Linked DNA regions of Homo sapiens: regions 1, 3, 4, 5, 6 and 7 are each linked to region 2. The links are contacts of gene promoters, found by promoter capture Hi-C in human tissues and cell types (Jung and others, 2019). All regions are on one chromosome and are shown on one strand. The core of a region is centred on a gene start or on the middle of the fragment in contact, and the rest is flanking DNA. Distances in the headings are between cores, read along the strand shown.

Evidence for each region. The method cuts DNA at HindIII sites, captures the fragments that hold promoters and counts their contacts. A contact is called where the count stands out against the background at its distance.
Region 1: a contact is called between a fragment that was not itself captured here and the fragment with the promoter of PTPRM in region 2, in 2 of the 25 tissues and cell types used here (heart left ventricle and mesenchymal stem cells).
Region 3: a fragment that was not itself captured here is called in contact with the fragment with the promoter of PTPRM in region 2 in 1 of the 25 tissues and cell types used here (mesenchymal stem cells).
Region 4: a contact is called between a fragment that was not itself captured here and the fragment with the promoter of PTPRM in region 2, in 1 of the 25 tissues and cell types used here (lymphoblastoid cells).
Region 5: a fragment that was not itself captured here is called in contact with the fragment with the promoter of PTPRM in region 2 in 2 of the 25 tissues and cell types used here (lymphoblastoid cells and mesenchymal stem cells).
Region 6: a contact is called between a fragment that was not itself captured here and the fragment with the promoter of PTPRM in region 2, in 1 of the 25 tissues and cell types used here (dorsolateral prefrontal cortex).
Region 7: a contact is called between a fragment that was not itself captured here and the fragment with the promoter of PTPRM in region 2, in 1 of the 25 tissues and cell types used here (lymphoblastoid cells).

The regions. Positions count from the first base shown.
Region 1 is chr18:8,175,847-8,179,175 of GRCh38, reverse strand. All of the region lies in intron 14 of PTPRM (protein tyrosine phosphatase receptor type M), which reads right to left. Among named protein-coding and RNA genes, the nearest start is that of RAB12, 430 kb to the left of the region's middle. The HindIII fragment of the contact is 3,418 bases long and covers 1-3,178 here.
Region 2 is chr18:7,565,590-7,568,901 of GRCh38, reverse strand. It overlaps PTPRM (protein tyrosine phosphatase receptor type M), which reads right to left and starts at 1,586. Exons shown (of 33, transcript NM_001105244.2): 1 at 1,011-1,586. The coding sequence starts at 1,083. RefSeq lists a silencer at 1,536-1,905. The HindIII fragment of the contact is 7,623 bases long and covers 1-3,312 here.
Region 3 is chr18:6,926,150-6,929,388 of GRCh38, reverse strand. It overlaps LINC00668 (long intergenic non-protein coding RNA 668), which reads left to right. Exons shown (of 7, transcript NR_034100.1): 2 at 421-538; 3 at 1,170-1,269; 4 at 1,805-2,732; 5 at 2,831-2,949; 6 at 3,164-3,239. It also overlaps the pseudogene SCML2P1. Among named protein-coding and RNA genes, the nearest start is that of LINC00668, 2.1 kb to the left of the region's middle. The HindIII fragment of the contact is 4,461 bases long and covers 1-3,239 here.
Region 4 is chr18:8,218,245-8,221,509 of GRCh38, reverse strand. The region is part of intron 14 of PTPRM (protein tyrosine phosphatase receptor type M); the gene reads right to left. Among named protein-coding and RNA genes, the nearest start is that of RAB12, 390 kb to the left of the region's middle. The HindIII fragment of the contact is 4,468 bases long and covers 1-3,265 here.
Region 5 is chr18:8,243,155-8,246,355 of GRCh38, reverse strand. PTPRM (protein tyrosine phosphatase receptor type M) reads right to left here. Exons shown (of 33, transcript NM_001105244.2): 15 at 2,147-2,298. Among named protein-coding and RNA genes, the nearest start is that of RAB12, 360 kb to the left of the region's middle. The HindIII fragment of the contact is 4,817 bases long and covers 1-3,201 here.
Region 6 is chr18:8,460,674-8,463,911 of GRCh38, reverse strand. No RefSeq gene overlaps it. Among named protein-coding and RNA genes, the nearest start is that of RAB12, 150 kb to the left of the region's middle. The HindIII fragment of the contact is 5,330 bases long and covers 1-3,238 here.
Region 7 is chr18:6,909,254-6,912,538 of GRCh38, reverse strand. It overlaps ARHGAP28 (Rho GTPase activating protein 28), which reads right to left. Exons shown (of 18, transcript NM_001366230.1): 18 at 1-479. The coding sequence ends at 385. Among named protein-coding and RNA genes, the nearest start is that of LINC00668, 19 kb to the left of the region's middle. The HindIII fragment of the contact is 3,345 bases long and covers 1-3,281 here.

The DNA.
Region 1 (3,329 bases), core at 220-2,719, 610 kb before region 2:
CTTCTTTCGCAGCAGGACACAATTGGAGAAACTGGTTGTTTTACCAAGGCTTTGAATGGAATGGCATGCTTTCCTTTAAGGAATCAAATCTGACTTATAGAGATAATAAAAGTCCCTTGGGAAAGCTGGCCTCATACCTTCTGTATGCAGTCCCTGTACAGTGTTCCTGACCTGTGGTAAGTAAAGAATATCACTTTCTCACAGGCCTAGGAGCACCAAGTTATCTTGGGACCTTAAGAGGTGAGGAATGTACCCAACTCATACAGGTATTTGATGGTACAAACCCACAGCTAGGCTTATGGCTTTAAAACATTTTATCTGAGATCCTAATGGAACAAAGTTCCATCAAAGCCAAATTTATTTTTTATTTTATTATTATTATTATTTTTGAGACGGAGTCTTGATCTGTTGCCCAGGCTGGAGGGCAGTGATGCGATCTTGGCTCACTGCAACCTCCACCTCCCAGGTTCTAGTGATTCTCCTGTCTTAGCTTCCCGAGTAGCTGGGATTACAGGCACATACCACCATGCCCAGCTAGTTTTTTTTGTATTTTTAGTAGAGACGAGGTTTCACCATGTTGGCCAGGCTGGTCTCAAACTCCTGACCTCAGTTCATCCACCTGCCTCGGCCTCCCAAAGTGCTGAGACTACAGGCATGAGCCACCGTGCCCAGCCCATCAAAGCCAATTTTAAAAGGAGCCTATGTGGCAAATAATTATTCTTGCTGTGATTTATGCAAATAATCAGGCCAAGTATAACAAGACTAAAGCTTATTTTGCAAACAAATCAGTCCTATCATGATTTGTTTTTAATGAAAATGGAGATTGGAGGGAGAAAAATTGTGTTTCAAGAATGACGGCAAACCTGTTAAAAGATTCTAGTCTCATCAGTTCTTTTTGAGTTTTTGTCTGCAATTTAGACTAACCTTGCTTATTCCTGTGAACAAACCAATGATCTCTGGCTATAGCTCAGAAGAAACGAGAGGGTGGGTAATGTAAAAATTTGGATTAATATTCTAATTCTAGGCACATACTAGAATCGGCTAGCAACTCCATGCACCCAACATCTGAAACTGGTGATCAGCAGCTTCCCAATAAGATCTCAGGAGTGGGGCAAGTGGGCTCAAGCATGCACACTAAGAGGCAAAGTGGCAGAGTTTAACTGGTATATGACCTTCTAGAATTGTTCAACTGCTAAGGGAAAAATGTCTTAAGTGAGCATGTGCACAACTCCAGTAAACACACTGTGAATACAGCCCCTCCCCAGTGCTGGTAGGCCACTGTGCATACAAACAGCTCATCCCAAGGGAAGAATCAGGGGAGAAGAGACACAAGACCCTGGAAGCATGCCAATATGTACAACCCCAGATCTAAGGTCAAACCGTGCACTTGACCCTCTCAAGTTGCCTACTTGGCCCTTTTCCAAATGTACTCTATTTACTTTCCTCCCTGCTCCAAAGCTTTTCAATAAACTTTCATTCCTGCTCTAAAACTTGCCTCATTCTCTCACTCAGCCTTATGCCCCTGGGTTGAATTCTTTCTTCTGAGGAGGCAAGAATTGAGGTTGCTCCCAACACTTACTGATTTGCTGCTGCTAAGAGGAGTATACTTTTGTAACAAGTATAACAAGCCTTAGCCAATCACAGCAGCTGAGCTTCCGTCAATCACAGGAACCAACTAATCAGATCACTTTCAAATAAGGGAAACACTGCTGTAACCAGCCCAGCCTTTCTGTACCTGCCTTCTGTCTCGCATTGTGAAGGGGAACTCTGTGAACCTCTTCTGGTTCTGAGGGCTGCCAGATTTGTGAATCATTCTTTGCTCAATTAAACTCTGCTAAATTTAATTTGTCTAAAGTTTTTATTTTAACAGTAGGTTCTCAAAAAATGTGTTGAATGAATAAACAAAGAGGTGTGGAAACTGCAAAGAATTACTAAAGAAACTACTTACTTTATTGGTTGAATGGTTGGCTGAGAAAGTGTACACTGTGATTCTAAGAATATGCTTCTCATACTTTTATAAAGGTTAAAAAATACTTAAGTCATTTAGCTTTTTCCAAAAGGCATCAGTATTTGAACAAGTAATAAGAAAACACATCCCCTCAGAAAGGCAGGAGAAAATGGGGTTGACAGAAGAAATATGAAAAAAGTAAAAACATAATTGAGAAATCAGTGCACATTTTTTAAAAGGGCAGAAAAAAGGAGGGTCAAAAGACAAGATAGAAAAGAAGCAGATGTATTTCTGCTCAATCTGATCCACAAATAATTAGAACTAAACTGTCAACAGGGCTTTCAAGCTAGAGTGAAGGATATTAGTCACCAACTCTGCATGAGACTGGAGTCCTGACAGAGTGGCAGCCTTTATTATTGCCGAGGTTGACTTCCCTTCTGGAAGGTCACTGACCTTGATCTTTTTCCCTGACTGGCCTTCAGTGCTTTGCTAATCAGAGCAAAATCCTGCTTCAGTACCAACCGGGTGCGCCTGCAGTTAATCTTCCCATGACCTTTCTTCCAGACTCTCCTGCAAGTCATGTGGACGATCAAAATACATCATAAATTGCCATCCTGTTGGGGATGATGTGCACTTTGGTTCTCTTATTAACAGAGAACTTTCTTTTGGGTTAAGCTTAATAGTTGACAGCAATGTTCTATAAAAGGAGTACTGAATCCTACATATGTATACATATATTTTTTCACACAGGGACATTGTGAATAAAGAAAATCACATTGTCTGTGTTTATATTTGATGAATAATTAAGGGAATGAGAGATGTGGAAAGGACTTAAGAAGTCACCAGATCCAACTCCCTGCCTTCAGGCACATCCCTCTGAAATCACTGGCAATAGATGGCTATTCGGCCTATTTTTTGAGATTGCAGTAGATAGAGATTACACAGCCTTCTTTGTTAGCTTGTTTCCAAAAATAACTTCGATATTATGTCTAACTGTACTCTCTCTCTCTCTCTCTCTCTCTATTATACTGCCATACAACAAGCAATTCATTAATCGCTCCAAATACTGGATGAATTTTCCCTCAGGAAACTATTAACAATATAAGCTCATAAATTTTTAAATTTCCCAATTTGACATTAGATGGACTAAATCTTTAATTTTTAATACTTTGTGAATACTGCTTCTCTCAGTTAGCAATGCAAAGCCTTTAACTCTTAAAATGCTGCTTTCTGAACCACTTTTTAGTCATAAGAAGAGCACATGCTTGTTCTTTAGGCTTCAGCGTCTAAGGAATGAGAAGCAAGTCAGAAAACAGCAGCATGGGGCAGACAGTTCATAAATAAATCTGCTTTACATTTTCAGCAAGAAAACCTAATTCTC
Region 2 (3,312 bases), core at 337-2,836:
CATTTGCCGTCTATCCACCTGTGTCACCCAGGTAATAAAGGTCATCCTGGTTGTAAACCCCTGTGACAGCGTGCCGGGTTCGCCCCCACGCCGGACCCCCGACTCCGATCCACAGATCCTCTCCGTGAGGGGTTCCTCTGGGCTTAGAACGCCCCCGCGCGCGCGTGCAGGCACACACGCGCACACACTCACACGCTTGCTCGCACACCGCCAGTGCCTCTCCTTCCCACCTGGGACCCCCGGGCAGCCGGGCTGGATGAACAAGTTGCAGCTGGCCGCGGCGCTCCGCTAGGGGGACGAGGGTGGGGAGGGGGAGCCCAGCGGGGCGCAGGGCCGTGGCCAGGGCCTGGGGACCTGCCCGCTTCCCTCCGCGGCCGCCAAGCCCTACCGCTGGGACCGGCGAGGAACTCCCCCCAGCCTCTCCGCAGACGCTGCACGACCGCGGGGACCTCCCGGGGTCGCCAGCCGCGCCGGGCAGGGGGCGACAGGGAGGGCAGGGCACCGGGAGATCGCCGCCGCCGGAGCGGCCGCCAGTTCCCGGCGATCGCTGCGGGCGCAGCCGAACACCAGCGGCCTGGGCCCGGCCGCTGCTCGGGGTCGGCGGGGACCGCGCAGCGCCTACGCCAGGCGGCCCGGCGGCTGCAACTGGGAACTTCAAGCAAAGTTTTCTGCTGTTCCTTTTGCAGCCGGCCAGGGACTCAAGAGTGCAAGCCGCCCAACCTTGAGCACTAGCCCAGGCCGCGGAAGGACGGCGGCCGAGCTGGCAGTCCCGGCTGGGGAGCTCGCCCTCGGGGTCCGTCCGCTCCGCCCGCCCGAGGACTGGGTGCCTGCCAGCCCCACGGCCCCTCGCCCAGCGCCCGGCTCACAGGCAGAAGCGGTGTCCGGCCCGCCGCGCCCCCCGCCCGGCCCCGACGCCAGCCTTAGGGCTCTACCACCAGGGAGCTGTCGGCGTCCCGGGCGTCCCGCGCCGGCCCGCGCGCCTCGGGGGCGGCAGAGGCGGTCCCGCTTACCTGAGAACGTCTCGCCCGCCGCAGTTAGCAAAAGTCCGGCCAAAGTCGCCAGGCAAGTCCCAAGTCCCCTCATGGTGCTGAGTGCGGGCCGGGCCGCTCCCCGGCGGCGGTGGGTGGGCGCGCGAGGGCGGAGGGGGCCGGGAGCTTTGGTTCCGAGGCAGCGAGGAGAGACGGGTAAACAGCAGAGCGCTAAGCCAAGCCCCCAAAGTGCCAACAGTTGCAGAAGTCCGAACTCCAGCGGCTCCAGGGGCGCGGGCACAGGGTCCTGGGTCCTCCTCCCCTGTCCCTGGCCCCACTCGGCGTCTGGCGCCGCTGGCAGAGGGAGCGGAGGGCGAGCCCGCGGAGCCAAAATCTTCCCTCGGTTCCGGTTGCTGAGCTCGCCGCCTCTCCCCTTCCCCTGCCCGGGACCCGGGACCCGAGCTGCCGGCCGTGGCCGTGGCGGTGGCCGTGGCCGTGGCCGCGCGCGTTCCGCCCGCCGCCTCTCCACAGGCAGCCCCAAGCCCAGCCCCGGGCGGCGGCGCGCCGATGACCGAGCCCGCGCCGGCTGCGCGCGGGGCTCTTGCTCCCCGACTGACTGGCGGTGCCCCGCAGGCCGGCTGAAGGGAGCGCTCACGTCACGGCCGCCCGGCGCCGCCGCGGCCCGCTAGAGGGCGTGAGCGCCCGTGCCCCGCCGGCCCGCGCCCGAGCGCCTCCGGGAGCTCGGCTGGGGGCGGCCCCGCGGCCACAGCCACTACCGCCGCCGAAGCGGGCGTCAGCCGCGCGGGGAGGAGCGGCCACCGGGCTCCCCCCGCCCACCTCCTCGCCCCGGCCGCGTCTTCTATTTTGGTAGCTGGCTCTGGGGAGGGTGACTGTGGAAGAGGCTGCGCCGCCGCCAGAAGTTTGTCCCGGGTCACGAGCCGCGAGTAGTTTGTGAGCGCGGCCGGGCGGGACCAGCGGCCTGCGACCCCGCGGGCGCGGCCAGGCGGCTTCGAGCCTGGCGCCGGACGGCGATGTCACCGCACAGGGCCAGCTGCACCCGGAGTCGCCGGGCCTGCGCTGCTCGGCGGCTGCGGGAAAAGCGAGCCAGGAGATCGCTGAGGCTCCGGAGGGCTGCGAGCTTCTCTACGCCGCGGGCGGAGCGAAGTTGGCGGGCGCCGGGAGATGGCGCGGGAGCCGGGAGCGCCGAGCCCCGCGATCGCCAGCCCGCTCCCGGCCGGGCCCGCCGGGTACACGCCGCTGGCCCCGAGCACTGGCGCCCGGGAAGCAGGGCGCGCTTCTGCTGTTCTGCGTCCTCATCATGCCTCGGTGTCCCGTGTGGGCCCGAAGCGAGCCGCAGGCAGTACACGGAAGGCGGTGGTCACACCAAAACCAGGGTTTGGACATAACCCGTGGTTTCTGTATCTGGTGCAAAGTGCTGAGAAACAGGGGAGAAAGAGAAGTGGGGGGTGAATCAAGTAATGTCTTGAAATATTTTAGTTTTACGATTTTGGGTCTGAGTGAATTAAAAAAACCTTACAATGCTTCAGCAAAAAATAATTTTTTTATTTTAATTGTAAATTTTTTTGTAAGTGATCCTTCTATCTTCCAGGGAATAAGCACATTGAGCCAGCACCAACCAGACAGCTGTAAGCTCCTGGCCTAGCTAACTGAACGCAATAGAAGGCTTGGGAAGAGGTTAAATTAGGAACCAAAGTAACTGAGTGACAGGGTTCTAGCAATGATTCTGGCTAGAAGGCAAACCGGTGATACAGAGGCACCCAGGAGCTCTCCTGCACTTTTTCCGCAAGAGGGGTCCTCTGCTTAGTGCTCACTGCTTTCTAGTGCTTATAAACACGTAAAAAAATAAATGGATTCCACACTCATCTTGACCCTGTTCTCCACTGTACACCAGAACCAAGAAAGATACAGCTGTCATCCTCCCAAGGCAAATTTGGGGACTAGAAGACTTGCCTTTAGTGTGGCAACCAACACTCCTCTTACTTCAGGAAGTCCACTTACTAGATACTTACCAGACCTGCTCTTTAGAAGTCTCTATATTAATCATTTGCTTGTTAATATGAGCTTACATTGTCCTGCCACTTCTCCCAACTATGTGCTTATGGAACCTTATCTTTAATTGTGAAATGAACATTGAAATCTCAGAAAGGAAGCAATGTCTTCAAGATCAGCAAGTGAGGATGGTCAAATCTGCAACCTGGGCTTTCCATTTTGATGTACTTGTGTTCTATACTGCAGTTCAAATTTGCTTTAAAAAAAATTAGTAATAGGCTTTCCAATGGAGTTTTTCTGCTAGTGGGAGGACAGAGGTGGAAGCTAGGGAGAC
Region 3 (3,239 bases), core at 490-2,989, 640 kb after region 2:
GGGACTCTACAGGGCTCTCCCTCTGGGTAGTCACATTCACTTGTTGAGTTGGGTGTCCATCTCCTCTGCATGTGGATTTTACTGACTTCTTATAATTGTCCTTGGTAGAAATCAGTGATAGTTTATTCAGAACTGGGGATGAGCTCAGCATAGCTGACACAGGCTGAAAATAATTCCTATAGTTAAGAGAGCTGAGGAATTTCCCCAGTCCATGCTCGGAGAGTTAGTTTGCTGAATTGGTGGCTTTCTGAAAGCCTCTGCTCTTCTGGCATGTCTGTCGTCATAAGACAATATTTCTGCCTGTGGTACATATACCTCTGTGGGATCCTTAGGTGAGAGAGGAGTGGCATATGATGGAGGGTTCTGAGAGCATCAGTATGTCTGCCTCTGCTGATTGGCTTTTACCATTTTTATTTTGAGGAGGTGTTAACCACCGAAGGGAGGTAGAATGTTTTTCCCCACCAGAGGAGGCAGCGACCACGTCTCCTCTATGGAGGCATTCAAGAGCCGTCCAGCTGAAGCAGCATCACTGTCTGAGGTAAATACCTGGGGTTCACCATCTTGCACCAAGAAGATTAAAGACATGGACACATGTGAGTGGGTTGAGGAGCGGAAATTTTAATAGGCTGAAGAAAGGAGAGAGGAGAGCAGCTTTCTCTCTCTTTCTAGAGAGAGGCATCCAAAAGGGAAAAAGCCGGCCTGAGGTGGACCACAGCAGACTTGATAGGCAGGCTTGAGGAGGCGGCGTCTGATTTACACAGGGCCCACAGATTGGTCTGATCAGGTGTGACGTTTACATAGCGCTCGGGGAAGGCTGGTCGTCCCACCCTAATCTTATTAAACAAATGGGCTTTCTACTTGGCCAGTACCATCTTGTCTGCTCCTTACTATACACGCGGGTGGCAAAGACAGGAGAAGATGGAGCCACCGTTTTGAACGTGTCTATTCCCAGGTAACCTTTCTCTGTTGGCACAACCACCAGTATTAGCCTATGCAAGCTTCCAGCTTGCTTGTCTGTGCCTGCAGCTTGATTTTACAGGTTGTTCTTTGTTAGAAAAGAAAATGATTTGGGGCATTCCTTTTAATGCTTTTCATTAAAAGGAAAACCTTACCAAGGACTTCCTTATTCTGTCTGCCTAAATAATTTATTTTTAACTCTTCTATCACAGCTCGGAAGGCACAATCCACATAGGTCTGCATGGTCCACCGAGCTGCATACCCACGGGGCCAGCGGGAGGTGGGCAGCTGCTGGGCTCTCTTCTGAAGCAGGTGAGTATGGAGTCCCCTGTTTGTCTGCAAAGAAACAGACTGCAGACATTGCTGCAGTCATGGTCTCGGCAACGTCATCCCTGATCTAGTGGAAGGCCAAGGTCTCTTTCTAGCAACTACATAAGTAGAGATGGAGGAGAACACAAAACAGGAAGACAATTTTTCCTTTTTCTCTCATTTTGGGCCTCTTTTAATTACGAATGCTGACCTTTGTCAGGGAATCATTTTTAAGAAACCTTTCCTTCGTGGGGAGGAAAGTTATGCAGGTGGTTTATCCCAACCTGATTTCTTGACCCAAGTTACTGGGCGAGTTTTCTCGCCTGCATTGAATGCTGAGCCACACGGGAAGGAGAAGATTGTGCTTTCGCTCTACTTATTGTAATGGGAGCATTATTTTCTGATGGTTGTAAGACATTTGTCAAGCGATACAACCTACCCAATTAGGAGACTATCTGAAGAATCATAGCAATATTCAAAAGCTCCTCTCTAGTCTCCAAATGTAATGTAAACTTTTTTTTCTTTTCTTTTTTTACAGACAGGATCTCACTCTGTTGCTGAGGCTGGATCACAGCTCCCTGCAACCTTGAACTCTCCCTCAAGCAATTCTCCCCACTCTGCCTTCCAAAGCACTAGCATTATAGGCCTAAGCCACCACTCCCATCCACTGTAGTGTAAACTGTCTCCTTCAATGTTTCCAATAGTTGCGGAGCAGATCAGATAAGGGTTCTTCCTGTCTGTTGCTTCAAGTTTCATTCTCTCTTTAAACAATACAAGGTTGGCTTCCATGGTTCCTTCTTAAAGAATGTTGAAGGTGTGTCTTCAGATTCATTTAGTGTTCGTGGAACCCCAGGGAAAGCTGATGTAAAAACCTCTTTTTTCTCCCATATGTCTCAAAAAGTTGTATTTTCTGGGTCCAAGGGATCTGCAAGCCTCCTAAAGGCATTTCCATTGTCACTACCACCAGGTGTGAACTGTAATCTGGCACGTATAGTTCCAAGAACTGTCATAATAGATGCTGAAGAAACATTGTGAAGTTAACTCGCTGTTACCAACTGTGAAGTCATTAGCTAGAGGAATCTTGGGCGGTCTGAAATCTGAGATACTGTGGAAAGAACAGAAAGATCCTGTATCTTTCCTATAATTGTTCTACTGGAAGTTGTCATTTTACACAGGAGACATTCTGTTTTATTTATTTTCTTTTGAGACAGGGTCTCACTCTGTCGCCCAGGCTGGAGTGCAGTGTTGTTACCACAGGTCACTGGTGCCTCCACTGCCTGAGGACTGCTCAAGCAATCCTCCTGCCTCAGTCCCCTGAGGAGCTGGGGCCACAGGCCTGCACCACCATGCCTGGCTAATTATTTTTATTTGTAGAGACAAAGTCTATCTTGCCTAGGCTGATCTCGAACTCCTGGGCTCAAGTAATCCTCCCGCGGTGGCTTCTCAAAGTGCTTGGGATTACAGATGTAAGCTACCATGCCCGGCCTCACAGGAGACATTTTTGATGTCCCTCTTGACAGTCTACAAAAGTCTACAAATCTTTTTTTTTTTTTTTTTGAGACAGGGTCTTGCTCTGTCACCCAGTCTGGAATGCAGTGGTGCCATCATAGCTCACTACAGCCTGAGCTGTACTGAGCTCGAGGGATCTTCCCGTCTCCGCCTCCTAAGCAGCTGGGACTACAGGTACTTGCCCCCAGGCCCAGATAATTTATTTAAAAACTTTTTTTGTAGAGACAGGGTCTCACTATGTTGCCCAGGCTGGTCTCAAACTCCTGGCCTCAAACAATCCTCTACCTCAACCCCCCTAAGTGCTGGCATTACAGGCATCAGCTGCCATGCCTGGCTACAAATCTTAATGTTTTCCCCATGGCTTCTTTTTCTGGCGTTCTTTTCTCAGGTAATGGAAGTGGGCAGAGAATGATCCTTTCCCTAGGCTCCAGTGTGTAAGAATTAAAGAAAGAGGAAAGAAACAC
Region 4 (3,265 bases), core at 227-2,726, 650 kb before region 2:
CTGAATCTGCTCTTATTCTGAGGGCTGCCTGATTCACTAATCATTTTTCCTTGCTCAATTAAACTCTGTTAAATTTAATTTGTCTAACATTTTTCTTTTAACAATCCATTCAACATTGCATAAGCATCCCCTGTGAGCTCAGCACTGGGCTAGGTACTTGGGATGCAGGGTGACAATGACAGCCCTGGCCTCTGAGAAACTCACAGGTACTGGGATAGACGGCATGTGAAACCAACCCCCACAGCGACAACAATACAGGCTCCACAAAGTGCCAGGGAACACAGGGAAATGGGTGAGTAAACTTTGGGTTATAATTTGGATAATGCTTTTCTTCATGACCATTGCTATCCTAGTCTTCCTTGACAAATCCCTCCAATCATATTTGCAAAATAAACACCCTGTCAAATCTGCAATAGTTTAGTGGGAGGAAAAACAGAAAAAAAAAGAGACTTCAAGTCTAAGTTGTATCAAGTGCCTCTATTTTTCAAGGGCAATCACTTGACTATTATTTCATCTGATTATTCTCATTTTGTTCACTGAGATCTTACCTCATAAGGGTTTTGTACAGTCTGTTGATGAAGAAACTGCCCTCATGCTGATGGATCTCATGAATGATTATAAAGGAGATGTAGGGTTTAATAACATCCATCAGCACATAAATGCTTACATTTAGCTCAAAGAAAACTTAGGTATTAAGAGCATCGATTCAATGTAATTCAATGGTAATTGAATTAAAGGTAATTCAATGGATGACCAAAGAAAACACCCCTATTACAAAGCAAACCAGCAATTACAGACACAGGTGTCAAAACAGATACCCAAGAGTTAGATTAAGTCTTGGCTCTTTTTCTCAAAGGAGTCTTATTCAGGAGGAACTACAGCTTTCCTAACTCTTTCCTAATAAGCTTTCCTCACTTAGTGGATCCACCCACCACACACTGTGTTTTATCTTGATTCTCTCCTTGACAACTGGTTTTAAGTGGGACAGGTTCACATAAAGAATGCCCCAATCCTGCTGGTGGAGGCATACATTTCTCAGCCTTTTCAAAATAGCAAAAGAAAAATGAATCCCTTTGTGGGATATATGTGTGTGTATGTGTGTTGAAAAGTAAGAGTATCTTATGACTGTTCTGTGCTATGTAAAAGAACTCTGATAAATGGCTTGCATTATGTAATGTCTGCATGCTCAAAAAAGCAAGTTGGTACACAGTTTGAAGGACATAAATTCAGAAGCACTAAAAATACTTTAAAGTTCGGAAGTCATCACTCATAGTTTCCACATCTTCTTGGTCTTGTTTTTTCCTTCATCTCTAATCTTTTATCTCCTTCCCCTTTAATTCTCACCATGTTTCTTCAGCAATTTCATTAAAATTTGCAATTCTTTATAATGATCTAGTGATTGTACCATGCGGTAAAAGAAAATCCTAAGCTCCCCACTGACTTGTAGCCAAGAGGAACTCAGAAAAATCTTAAAAATTTTCCTGAGTTCCTGGATGTGATGGGGAGGTCAGACACACCTCGTTATAGCGCCCCCTTTTGGAGTTTAGGCACAATAATTGACCAGCATTAATGTTAAAATAGAGATCATAAGATTGACTAAACATACTCTTTGTGGTAATGATATATCAAATTATAAACAATACCTAAGGCAAGGGTTAAGTCATGCCTGCAAGCCACTGCTTTTGTTAAGCAGGTCATATTGTGGCTGACTCTGACATAGCATGCTTATCTTAACTTAAAACATTCCTTTCTGCTAACTCCAAGTTTTTAGACCAAGTTTTGTTCCTTTAACCAATTGCAAATTAAAGAATCTCTGAATCCATCTATTGACTTGTAAGCCTCCACCTCAAGATATCCCACCTTTATGGGCTAAACTAATCAATATCTTCCATGTATTGATTTATGTCTTTGCCTGTAACTCCTTCCTCTCCAAAATGTAGAAAACTGTAATCTGACTCTCTTGACTTTGTCAGGATCTCTTAAGACTGTTTTTCCTTGGGCCACGGTTACTCATATTGACTCAGAATAAGTTTTTTTTTTTTTGAGATGGACTCTTGCTCTGTCACCCAGGCTGGAGTGCAGTGGCCTGATCTCGGCTCACTGCAACCTCTGCCTCCTGGGTTCACGCCATTCTCCTGCCTCAGCCTCCCGAGTAGCTGGGACTACAGGCGTCCTCCACCACGCCCGGCTAATTTTTTGTATTTTAAGTAGAGACGGGGTTTCACCATGTTAGCCAGGATGGTCTCGATCGCCTGACCTCATGATCCACCCGTCTCGGCCTCCCAAAGTGCTGGGATTACAGGCGTAAGCCACCGGGCTTGGCCAGAATAAGCCTCTTAAAAATCTTTTAGAATTTAGTTTTTCCATTAACAGAGCACTGGTTCCTAAATGTACTCTAAGGTAAGCATCAGGAGATTAGAACTTGCATAAACACTGAAGCTAGAAACAATGCCTTCACTGGAAGCAAGGGGACTTCCCACGCCCTGCAAGTCTCCAGGATGTACTGCATGATGCAGAGAGCTCCATCAGTTTCCCTCCACACTCTCAGCCCTCTCTGGAAAGAAATCCTGGCTATGATCATTCATGGAGAGGTTTTATCTTCCTGAGTTCTAAGAACCAAGAGTTACTACTCTTTTCCCAAGAACATGTTCTGAAAAAGTAGCCAAAGAACCTAAATTCAACTTATTCTTTGGGGGCATCACACCAGTGTTCCATGCAAGAACTGCCAAGAGAAATGTCAAGGCGGGCACTGCTCCTTTGTATGCGTGTAAGTTTTAAACATGTAGAAGGTTTTGACAACCATTACCCATGCTTCATGCACAAAAGTAGGAAAGGAGAAGACAGAGGGCAATTGAGAATCAAAAAATCTCTTTCCTTTGAGCGCTACACTGACCCTCTCCCATGGCTCCCCTTGTCCCCCAAGAGTGCAACAGATAATCTGCTGTTTATTCAAAACCACCTACAGAAGTTAATAGACAGTTATAAACTAATTGAGTGCCTCTGTGGTGCTGTCTCCCCATTCATCTTGCTTATTCAATTTAACTCCCTTAGTCTTCCACAAGGCACAGTGTCCCTGCTGCTCCCAATAGTTGCTTGCTGCAAGAAAGGCCCTAGAACAACAGGAAGCTAATAGTTTAACCGTTCTTCTAAATTTGTTTGACAAAACTGACATTTAGTGCATTATGTCACGTTGTTGGTAATCTGCAATTTACCCCTGGGCGTGCAGTGGATGCTCATTTTATTTACCTCTCATAGTTAAAAGCGT
Region 5 (3,201 bases), core at 516-3,015, 680 kb before region 2:
TGGTCATGCTTATTTTTAAATTCTCCTATTTCGTTTTTCCCCTTGTCTCATTTCTAAAAACTGCTCACTTCACAACTTCCAGCACTTTCTCCCAACCCTGAAAGAGCTCATGCATACCCACACTTGTCATAGGTGTGGTGCTGGCAGCCTTGTGGTCTAAGGAACATCTTTCCTGAAGGTTTCCTCCCCAGAAACTGCTGTCTTATTTCAAAGACATCAAGACAGTATTATGATATCTACCTCTAGGGTCGCTCCTATCAGATGAGATCTGATGAGAACTCATTGCTCAGAGTGGGAGGAAAATGGAAAGTCTACTGCTGTGTTCCTTCTGTTGGCTTTATTGAAGGAAGGCAAAAAATAACGTCTAATAGCCGATCAGTTGTGGAAGCTCCGTTGGCCTCTGCAGCTGCCGTTTGTACATGAACATTTTTGGATTTCCACAGATACATTCACTTTCAAAAAAGTAACTGCCAAATTAAACTTCCTGTCCAGAAGTGAATATTCTTGTTGTTCAAACTTCAAACACCTAGAACTACTAAAGAAGATTCTTGCTTTTGGGATGAGTGATTCTAAGTAAATTGATTCTTGAGGAATTTCACCATGAAATAGAAGATTTGGAACGTTAATGGGTTATACTGCAAAATGAAGATGTATCTGTGTGGTCCCCTTCAAGGAATACCTGCTACTACAAAAATTCTAATCCTGTGTGTGGCCAAAAGGGCTTCTCCAATTCCAGCCCACAACGAATGCATCATAGGTTGCTTTCTTATGGCAGTTAAATAAATTATACATACATATTTTTAAATGAAAAACATTATATCTGCCACAAAAAAAGCAGAGAGAACTCTATGAAAAAATGGGAAGGAGCTTGGGTACACTGAGACCCCATAGCTTCTATTTCCTGCACTGAAAATGACAGGAAAGGGTAAAGAAAGAAGATCAAGGATGAAAGCAACAGTGCTGCCCTGCCCATTGGTGCCAAAGCAGCACCTGTGCATGCTCCACTGGGCCATGTGTGTGTGTAGTACAAACTGATGGAGGAGGATGAAGTGGGACAACTGCAGCCGCTACAAGCAGAAAAATGTAAGACTGAATTCGGAGCTCAGCCGCGTGTACGAGAAACGCAAAGCTCAGGGACAGGCACGTGCATTGACCACACTGTGATCTGGAAGAGGAGGAGTGGAGGGGAGCTGCAGTACCACACTGACCACAGTGGGTATTAGGACATGAGCCCACACCGTCCAAACTGCTCCCAGTCGCCCCACGCCAGATGCCATTTCTGTGCTCCTCACAGCCACAAGGCCCACCGGCCTTTAAAATACTACGATTATTTTTTTGTAACAGGAATAGCTGCACTTTAATTCCATCCCCATGCTGACCAGAATCCTGGTTATGCAGCTCAGGCCTGAGGCACAGATTTCACACAGTAAAGAAACCCCCGACCTTGAACTCACCAAAGTGTGCCCTAAACCACAGAGTGAGGTATCTCCCTCTGGTCTCCGAGATTACCAGGGACAAAGCAACTACTCCTTTTGTGCTTGATATAATCAATCTAATTGTTAGTTTCCTAAAATAATGCCTTCTACCTGGATCACAGGTAGTAGTATGGGAAGGCAGTAGCTGAGGTTGGTTTACACACCTGGTATGAAGCATAAGACTTGTGAAGCTGAAATAGAGTTTAATTTATTAATTGACACTGACAGCCCTATAATAAAGGCAGAACCTGTCATCTAAACAAATAAACAATTAACTTGTTACTGCCATTTAGTGAACTGTTTTTATAACAGGCTTCCCATGTGTAATTCCACACCTGGATAGTTTACAAATGGGATCTAAACAACAAGAAGGATGATGAGAAGCAGGTGCCTTCTTCCTCAAAAGAAGGAAAGCCTCGTGTCACTGCTCTCTAAATCTTTACAGAAACTGCACTGTGGTTTTCTGGACTCTCTGATCTGGTCCTATCACCTTTAGAACATCTCTGCTAAGCAACCTGTGGCACAAAGGATCACTGAAAATGACTGAAGAAACCAACACGGCATAAAAATTTCTTCAGGAAGCTTTTTTTTTTTTTGAAATCCCCTAGTACCACCTGGAATCTTGCAAAACCAAGGAGATGTGTTAGAAGCCAAGAAACATATGCACTTACATCTCCCATTCAGATTGTGCGTGTCCATGAATGAGAAAGCCTCGTCGCAGTTTGTGCCCTGCTCAGCATAGCTCTTGTCCATTGAGTTCACCATCACAGTCATCTCCTGTCGGGTGCTGCTCATGGTCTCTTTCCGCTTCTTGGCCAGTTTCCTTAGGATAAAGAATTCAATTATGTAGGCATGCATTTGAACGGGATACAGAGCTTTGGCATGTATATTGACAGATGTTCAGGAATAACATCTACTGAATTAATCCTATTCATTCAGAGATGGATGTATAGTGCCTTATTTGTGGCAAGCACTCTGCCAGGCTGCAGACACAGAGATGAAAAACAGGTACTGTCTATCCTCAAAAAACAAAACAAAATAAAAAACCCCAAACAACCAGAAAGATAAAACACCACAGCCTAAAACACTGTTTCTCCTATTATAAGCTAGATTAAAATGACCAATGATTCTAGTACAACACAATCATAATCTAATTGTTACACTCCTAGAGTTACTAAGTTTTTACGAAATTATTGTCAACATCACCATATACAGTGTCAAAGAGAAGACTCCCTTGAGTAAATATTTTCCAAGCAAAAATGAAATAACAGATGAATCTAAAAGGCACATTGTTAAAACTAAAGAACAGAACTAGGTGAGGAGTCAAGAACGTATAATTGGAGTATGTTCATACAGGGAGCAGAACCTGACACAGAACCTACAAAGCTCAGAGAGCTCAGGCTGTAGGAGGATCAAGGGGAAGGTACTGAATTCTCAAAAGGCTATGACCCTGTCCCAAATCCCAAATGAACCCAGATTAGTTCCCATCAAGTTTTGTCAACCCCTACAGAGCAGAAGGTTAAAAAATGTCATGTCGCTGGGTTCCCTGCAACGTTCAGCAGGAGTAAGGCTTCTTTGTTCCCTCTTTCAGTGGAAGAGAATGAAAAAAAAGCAGAGAGATTTCTAATTCTTTTGGAGACATAGGTTAATCCTGGCCTCTGCATCCTGCTCGCTGACCATCAAAAACTCAACATCTAAAATGACTGACACCTGTACAAAAGCCAGA
Region 6 (3,238 bases), core at 423-2,922, 890 kb before region 2:
CTGTCAAATAGGAAACATCACATTTCATTCCCAAAGCTTTCTTGCTCTTTCAAAGCTCTCACCACTAGAGAAACATCCTGGCTGGTACTTTGAACATTGCCCACGTGATTTTAAAGAACTGTGTGGCCCCTGGTGGCTTGGTAAGTTGGCTATGTGGCTGGATCATTATCCCCATTTTACAGATTATTGGGTAAAGACACTGAGAGGGGAGTGGCATCACCAACCAGCTGGTGGGAGGCAATCATAGAAGTAAATGTGCTTCTCGAAATCCAGCCTTGCAGCTGTGTCTCTGGCAGGAACTGCAAAAGCTCTCTAGGGCCACCTTCCCTGCTCTTCCTTCTTCCTGGGTCACCCTCGGGGCTCCTGGGCTGCTCACTGCCTCGTCTCACCCACTCCCTGTCCCATCTGGCTCACTCAAGCATATAGAGCCACTGCTTCTGATCAGCCATTTCTATTTATTTATTTATTTATTTATTTTTGAGACAGTCTTGCTCTGTCGCCCAGGCTGGAATCAGTGGTACAATCATGGCTCACTGCAGCCTAGACTTCCTGGGTTCCAGTGATCCTCCCACCTCAAGCTCCTGAGTAGCTGGGACTACAGATGTGAGCTACCATGCTCGGCTAATTTTTAATATTTTTGTAGCGATAGGGTCTCACTATTTGAGACCCAGGCTGGTCTCAAACTCCTGGACTCAAGCCATCCTCCGGTCTCAGTCTCCCAAGGTGCTGGGATTACAGGTGTGAGCCACCGCACCCAGTTGATTAGCCATTTCCAACTCTGCAGCTCTGTGTCCTTTTTATACTACAGTGGGCGGGTCTTAGAGTCTCAGTGGCAGGAAGAGAGACCAGCGGACTGACCCAGGAGGCAAGCTATTCTGATTGCTTGTGGTCCTAGTGGAAACACAGACCAGCTGTCCCTTCTGTGGTGAGGGCAGGGCCAAAGTGCAAAGTCGCCCGAGAGAGGGGAAGCAGGTGAAATGGGAAGAGTAGACTTGCCATGTGGGGGCCTCCCGCCTGGCCTCCGGCTCCCTCACAAAGCCCATCCTCAGAGTTTTTTGTCACCAGTCACTGACGGCTCAAGTCCTATAGTAAAGGAACAGATCGCTCAATGAGAACATTCTGGACCTCAGTAGGGGAGGGGGCATTGTGAAAAGAGAAAGGCAGGTTCCATGTTAAACATGGGGGAGTGGGTTGGCCACTTGGGCTGGCCGACAGGCAGGACTAGAGGGACATCACCCTTGGGAACACAGGGGACTCCTGTCTTCCAGGTGACCCTCAGATCCCATCCCCAAACCCTGATGCTGGAAATGCTTTTCCAGGATCTAGAAATACTGTGTGCAGAAATGAACTACCAAGATGAGGTGTCTAGTCCTTCTTTTCAGGGAATCCATGCTGAAATGTCTTCATTTGAGTTCTAGGAGAGGTTGGAAATGTGTGGCTTCTTAATTTGTGTACAGAGCCTGGGGCCTCTGGATCCATTCTTAAAACAACACAGAGGCCACCTAAAAGAAGAAAAGATCTTCCTCTACCTAGACAATTTTCCTTACGTCGTAGTTAGTCATGTTAGATACAATTTATGGAAGGTCATTGGTTTGGACTAAGCTCCCGCACCAGGCCCAGCGGACCAGACAAAATGGAGTCACTCCTGCCAATTCAACACCACCAAGTGGAAACTAAGATCTTCAGCATGCCAAGAAGTTACAGAGAGAGGTGATAGTCAAATCCCCAAACAGGCCAGTTCTAGTGGCATAAGGAAGTCCCCTCTGCTTGAACCTTCACAAGAAAAGTAAGTTTGAAATAGCCAATCTGCTGTCTGTTCCCTGTTTCTGCTTTCCTCAGCCCTGTCTAGAAAACCAAGCTCCTCTGCTCAGCTCTTTGGAACACTTTCTATCTTATAGAACAAGGTGTTTCCCAATTCTAGAATCACACATAAAAGTCAAGTAAGATGTTTAAATTTTTTGTAAGTTGTCTTTTGACAGTAGTCCTGTGTTAACATCTAAGCATGGTAACTTTTTATTAACAGCCATTAAAAACGGTCTTTTGCTCATTTGTTCAAAATTCAGTGCCTTACACATTCTGGAACCAACCACCCTGCAGCTGACATAGCCCCTCACTTGATTCCAGACGGTGGAGGGCTCCTAGAGAGGGCAGCATTTTACAAGTGTTGCAACAAGACAGGGCCTCAGGAAGGGCTTTACCAGGGATACTGCAGCTCCCCACACATCAGGGATGCTGCAGCTCCCCACACACCCAGTTCCAATCACTGCTCCCTTCCAAAGATGGAGAGAGAAGATTCTCACACTGCTGTGCTTTTGAGCATTAGGCTTAGATTGAACCAGTTTTTGTTTGCTTTTCTAAACAATAAATTCTGACAGTCTCATATGTATATGTCTGTCTCCATCCTTCTCAGTCTACATCTGAGGCCCCCCTGTGGCTAGGCTCATGCTTCCTCCTCACCCTTCTCTCTTTATTTCTACCTCCCATGGCCTCAAGACTTCTCTGTCACTCTTAACTGGTCATCATATAAATATGAAATTCATTTAATCTTTTTTTTTTATTTTATATACCCTTCCCAAGTTACAAATGACTAATGGAATATTTTTATTCCTTTCTATTTCAAAAAAACAAACTAAGCAAAACCCCACCAACAATCCCACCACTGAGCTGCAGGGTCAGTGCAGCCCCTGAATCAGTCTTTACCACAGTGAGCCAGTAGATTTCCAAAGCCAGCTTCTCCATGTAGGAACATTCACTGATTACATCTATCATGCGATCAAAAAGGTTTCAGGTTTTCTCAGATATGGTAATCTCCAGGAGGAACACGGTTAGTGATGTAATAAAGGAAAGACAAGTGTATGAGATGTCCTCGTTCTCATGCCTCAGCGCCATGAGGAGTTTAGAGCACCATTCACGGAGCTCACCTAGGACTGAGCAGTCAGCCTTCTGGGCCTGTGTCCCTGGGAAATGCCTATTTGTGACTCACTTTCCAATTAAGCCAAGTTCCAACAGGTACTTTGGGTAACTTATTTTCATGAGCCTGGCAAAACTAAGCAAAATTTACCTCCTCTCTTCTCCTTACACACACATACTCATACTCCACAAAAGTTCTCAAAAGCTAAAATGGAATATTGTATATTTCACCTTCATATCCAAGAAGTATATTAACCATGCCCAGAGACTTCTCTTCATCATTCACTTCTGCTCTGAGGTTGGAGAGTATTAGCTCAATGACTGTGAT
Region 7 (3,285 bases), core at 360-2,859, 660 kb after region 2:
GTCTCTTTCACCTCTTTTGTTTCGTAGCATTGGCTACATAAAGAACATTGCTTATCCCTAGGTCTAGGGCCAAGTTCATTTCTGCTAGGAAGTTGAAATACTAGAAGTGATTAGAGTTCCATATTCTAGATTGGTCTTTCTTCTGGAAGGACCACATCATCTTTCCTTTACTTTTATAAAAAAAAAAGTCATGAGAAAGCTTCAGTTGAATTGGTGAACCGGCGCCTCTTCCATAGTTCATGCTTACAATGCCCACTGCTGAGGGCCAGAAATACTGAGAATGCTGTAGGAACAAATACGTCAAACACAGTGTTGTTTTTTCCCTACCAAAATGTAGGATCTTTTTGGCATATAATACATGATAGCAGCTCTCTCGAGGATATTTTAAGAACTTTGTTGGGGTTTAATCACCCATTCTGCTTGAGGATTTATACGATATACATCCAATATATAAGCATCTGGATCCAAGCAATGCTCTCCTAAAAGAAAGAGAAAGATCAGAGAATTAGTGTACATTTGTGTGTGTGTGCGTGCGCACACATATGTGTCTGTGTGTGTTTGTGAGGTTCAAATAAGGTTAATATAGTTTTCTTGGCCAAAGTAAGTAGACATATGTTAAGGTTTCTTAACAAACTCTTCTTCCCTCTTCTCCCTCTCTCCTTTCTTTTTTTTTTCTTTCTTTAAGACTGTGAAGTATGGGTATATCAAACAAATCTCATGTGAAATTTTGGAAGAAAGCAGACATACCATCACAGGCAAATTGTTCCCTTGCTTCATGGCATCAATTAGAAAATTATGGCAAGGGCTGGGCGCAGTGGCTCACACCTGTAATTCCAGCACTTTGGGAGGCTGAGGCAGGTGGATCACTTGAGGTTAGGAGTTTGAGACCAGCCTGGACAACATGGTGAAACCCCATGTCTACTAAAAATACAAAAATTAGCCAGGTGTGGTGGTAGGCGCCTGTAATTCCAGCTACTGGGGAGGCTGAGGCAGGAGAATCACTTGAACCTGGGAGGCTGAGGTTGCAGTGAGCCAAGATCGCACCATTGCACTCCAGCCTGGGTGACAGAGTGAGATCCCGTCTCAAAGAAAAGAAAAGAAAAGAAAAATATGGCAAGAACTTGTTTCAGGTATATTAGCATATAAACTCATCATTTATATGCTAATACATGTCCTCCAGTGGTTTTATAGATAGGTACTTGACCAGAGCTAGAGAAGATTCAAGTCAAGTTCATTTTAGGAATGGTCATTTTGTTTCTTTACTATGGACGTAAAGCCCATGGGCAGGAAATCCCAAAATGGTAACAACTAAAAGATCATTTCCTGGGGCAAACGTATTCGAAAGTCTTTACGTGCAGTGTGCTTGAAATGTATGCTGAAGTCTCAAACAAAACTACCAAGAGCTGGCCGAGCGCGGTGGCTCACGCCTGTAATCCCAGCACTTTGGGAGGCCGAGGTGGGCGGATCACAAGGTCAGGAGATCGGGACCATCCTGGCAAACTCAGTGAAACCCCATCTCTAGCAAAATTAGCCGGGCGTGGTGATGGGCGCCTGTAATCCCAGCTACTCCGGAGGCTGAGGCAGGAGAATGGCGTGAACCCGGGAGGCGGAGCTTGCAGTGAGCCGAGATCGCGCCACTGCACTCCAGCCTGGGCGACAGAGCGAGACTCCGTCTCAAAAAAAAAACAAAGCAAACAAAACAAAACAAAAAAACAAAACTACCAAGAGCTGTGTGAGTGCTAGGTTGCTTGATTCATTCACTTACCACATATTAATAATGCGCCAGGCACTATTCTAGGGGCTGGGTTTACAGCCATGTCTAAGAGCAGCACAAGGCAACTAACAAACAAACATGATATCAAGTAAGTCCACTGGTGATAAGAACATGAGAGAAAGACCAAGCATGGAAGGCATGTTCGGGAGGGTGCGAGGAAGGAGGGTCTCGCTGAGAGGCTGATTTATCCGCAAAGACCTGGCAGAGACCAGGGACTGAGAAGTGAGGCTGTCTGGGGGGAGGGCATCCTGGGGAAAAGTCAGAGCAAATGCAGAGGCCCCAGATCCAACCCTGTCAGGTGATTGGATTTACAGGTTTAGTGTTTAAAGGGACCCGTGGGATAGAAATCTCAGTGGCATCCACATACAGGTGTATTTAAAGCAGTGAGATGGATTGAGCTCGCCAAGGAAGGCAAGTGCAAATACAGGAGAGTTCCGAGGACTGAACCCTACCGTTCTCCAACCTTGAAAGGCTGAGAGGACAAGAAATAAGGGGCACAGGGTCTCCAGCAGCGCAGCTAGGAAAAGTGGGAAGACAGTCAGAAGCTTAGGGCATCCTTGAAGTCAGGTGAAGAAAGTGTTCTTCAAAGGAGGGAAAGATCAACTCAGGCAGTTCTAAAAACAGACGAGTTGTCTGGTGACCATGACAAGAGGGTGATTCTGGTGAAGTGCTGAGGGGCAGAGTGTGCCTGGAGTGGCTTCAAGAGATAACAAGGAGGAAGAAATTGGAGCGTAGACACTGATTCAAGAAGCTTTTGCTGTAAGGTGGAACAGAGAAATGGGAGTAGACTTAAAGGGGGGTGAAGAAATAATTTTATAAAGGTGAGGGAAATTGCCAATTTTTAAAATGCAGATGGAAATGCTACAGTTGGGAGGGAAAGGCTGATGGTGTGGGAGAGTGGAGGGTGCTGGTGAGAGGAGGCACTGCCCTCAGTGGGAGCACGGAGCACCCATGGGGCTGTGAGGATATTCACAGACCAAGCGGGGAAGTTTTGCTGATTCCTCCCCTGCTCCCCCAGGGAAATAGAAAGAATGAATTTGGGAGGAGAGTTAAAATAGGGAAGTTAATCAAAATGGTGTCATGCTTCTGAAAGTTCTTACAGTATTCTCTTTGTTTTGCAGAGTCTCCAGAGAGACTTTCCAACTTCAAATCACACTGAAAAGACCGAAGCCAGCCAGGCGCAGTGGCTCACACCTGTAATCCCAGCACCTTGGGAGGCCGAGGCGGGTGGATCACTTGAGGTCAGGAGTTCGAGACCAGCCTGGCCAACATGGTGAAACCCCGTCTCTACTAAAAATATAAAAATTGTCTGGGCGTGGTGGCGGGCATCTGCAATCCCAGCTACTAGGGAGGCTGAGGCAGGAGAATCACTTGAACCCGGGAGGCGGAGGTTGCAGTGAGCCAAGATCACTCCACTGCACTCCAACCTGGGCAACAGAGCAAGATTCTGTCTCAAAAAAAAAAGAAAAGAAAAGAAAAGAAAAGAAAAGCAAAGAAAAGAAAAGAAAAGA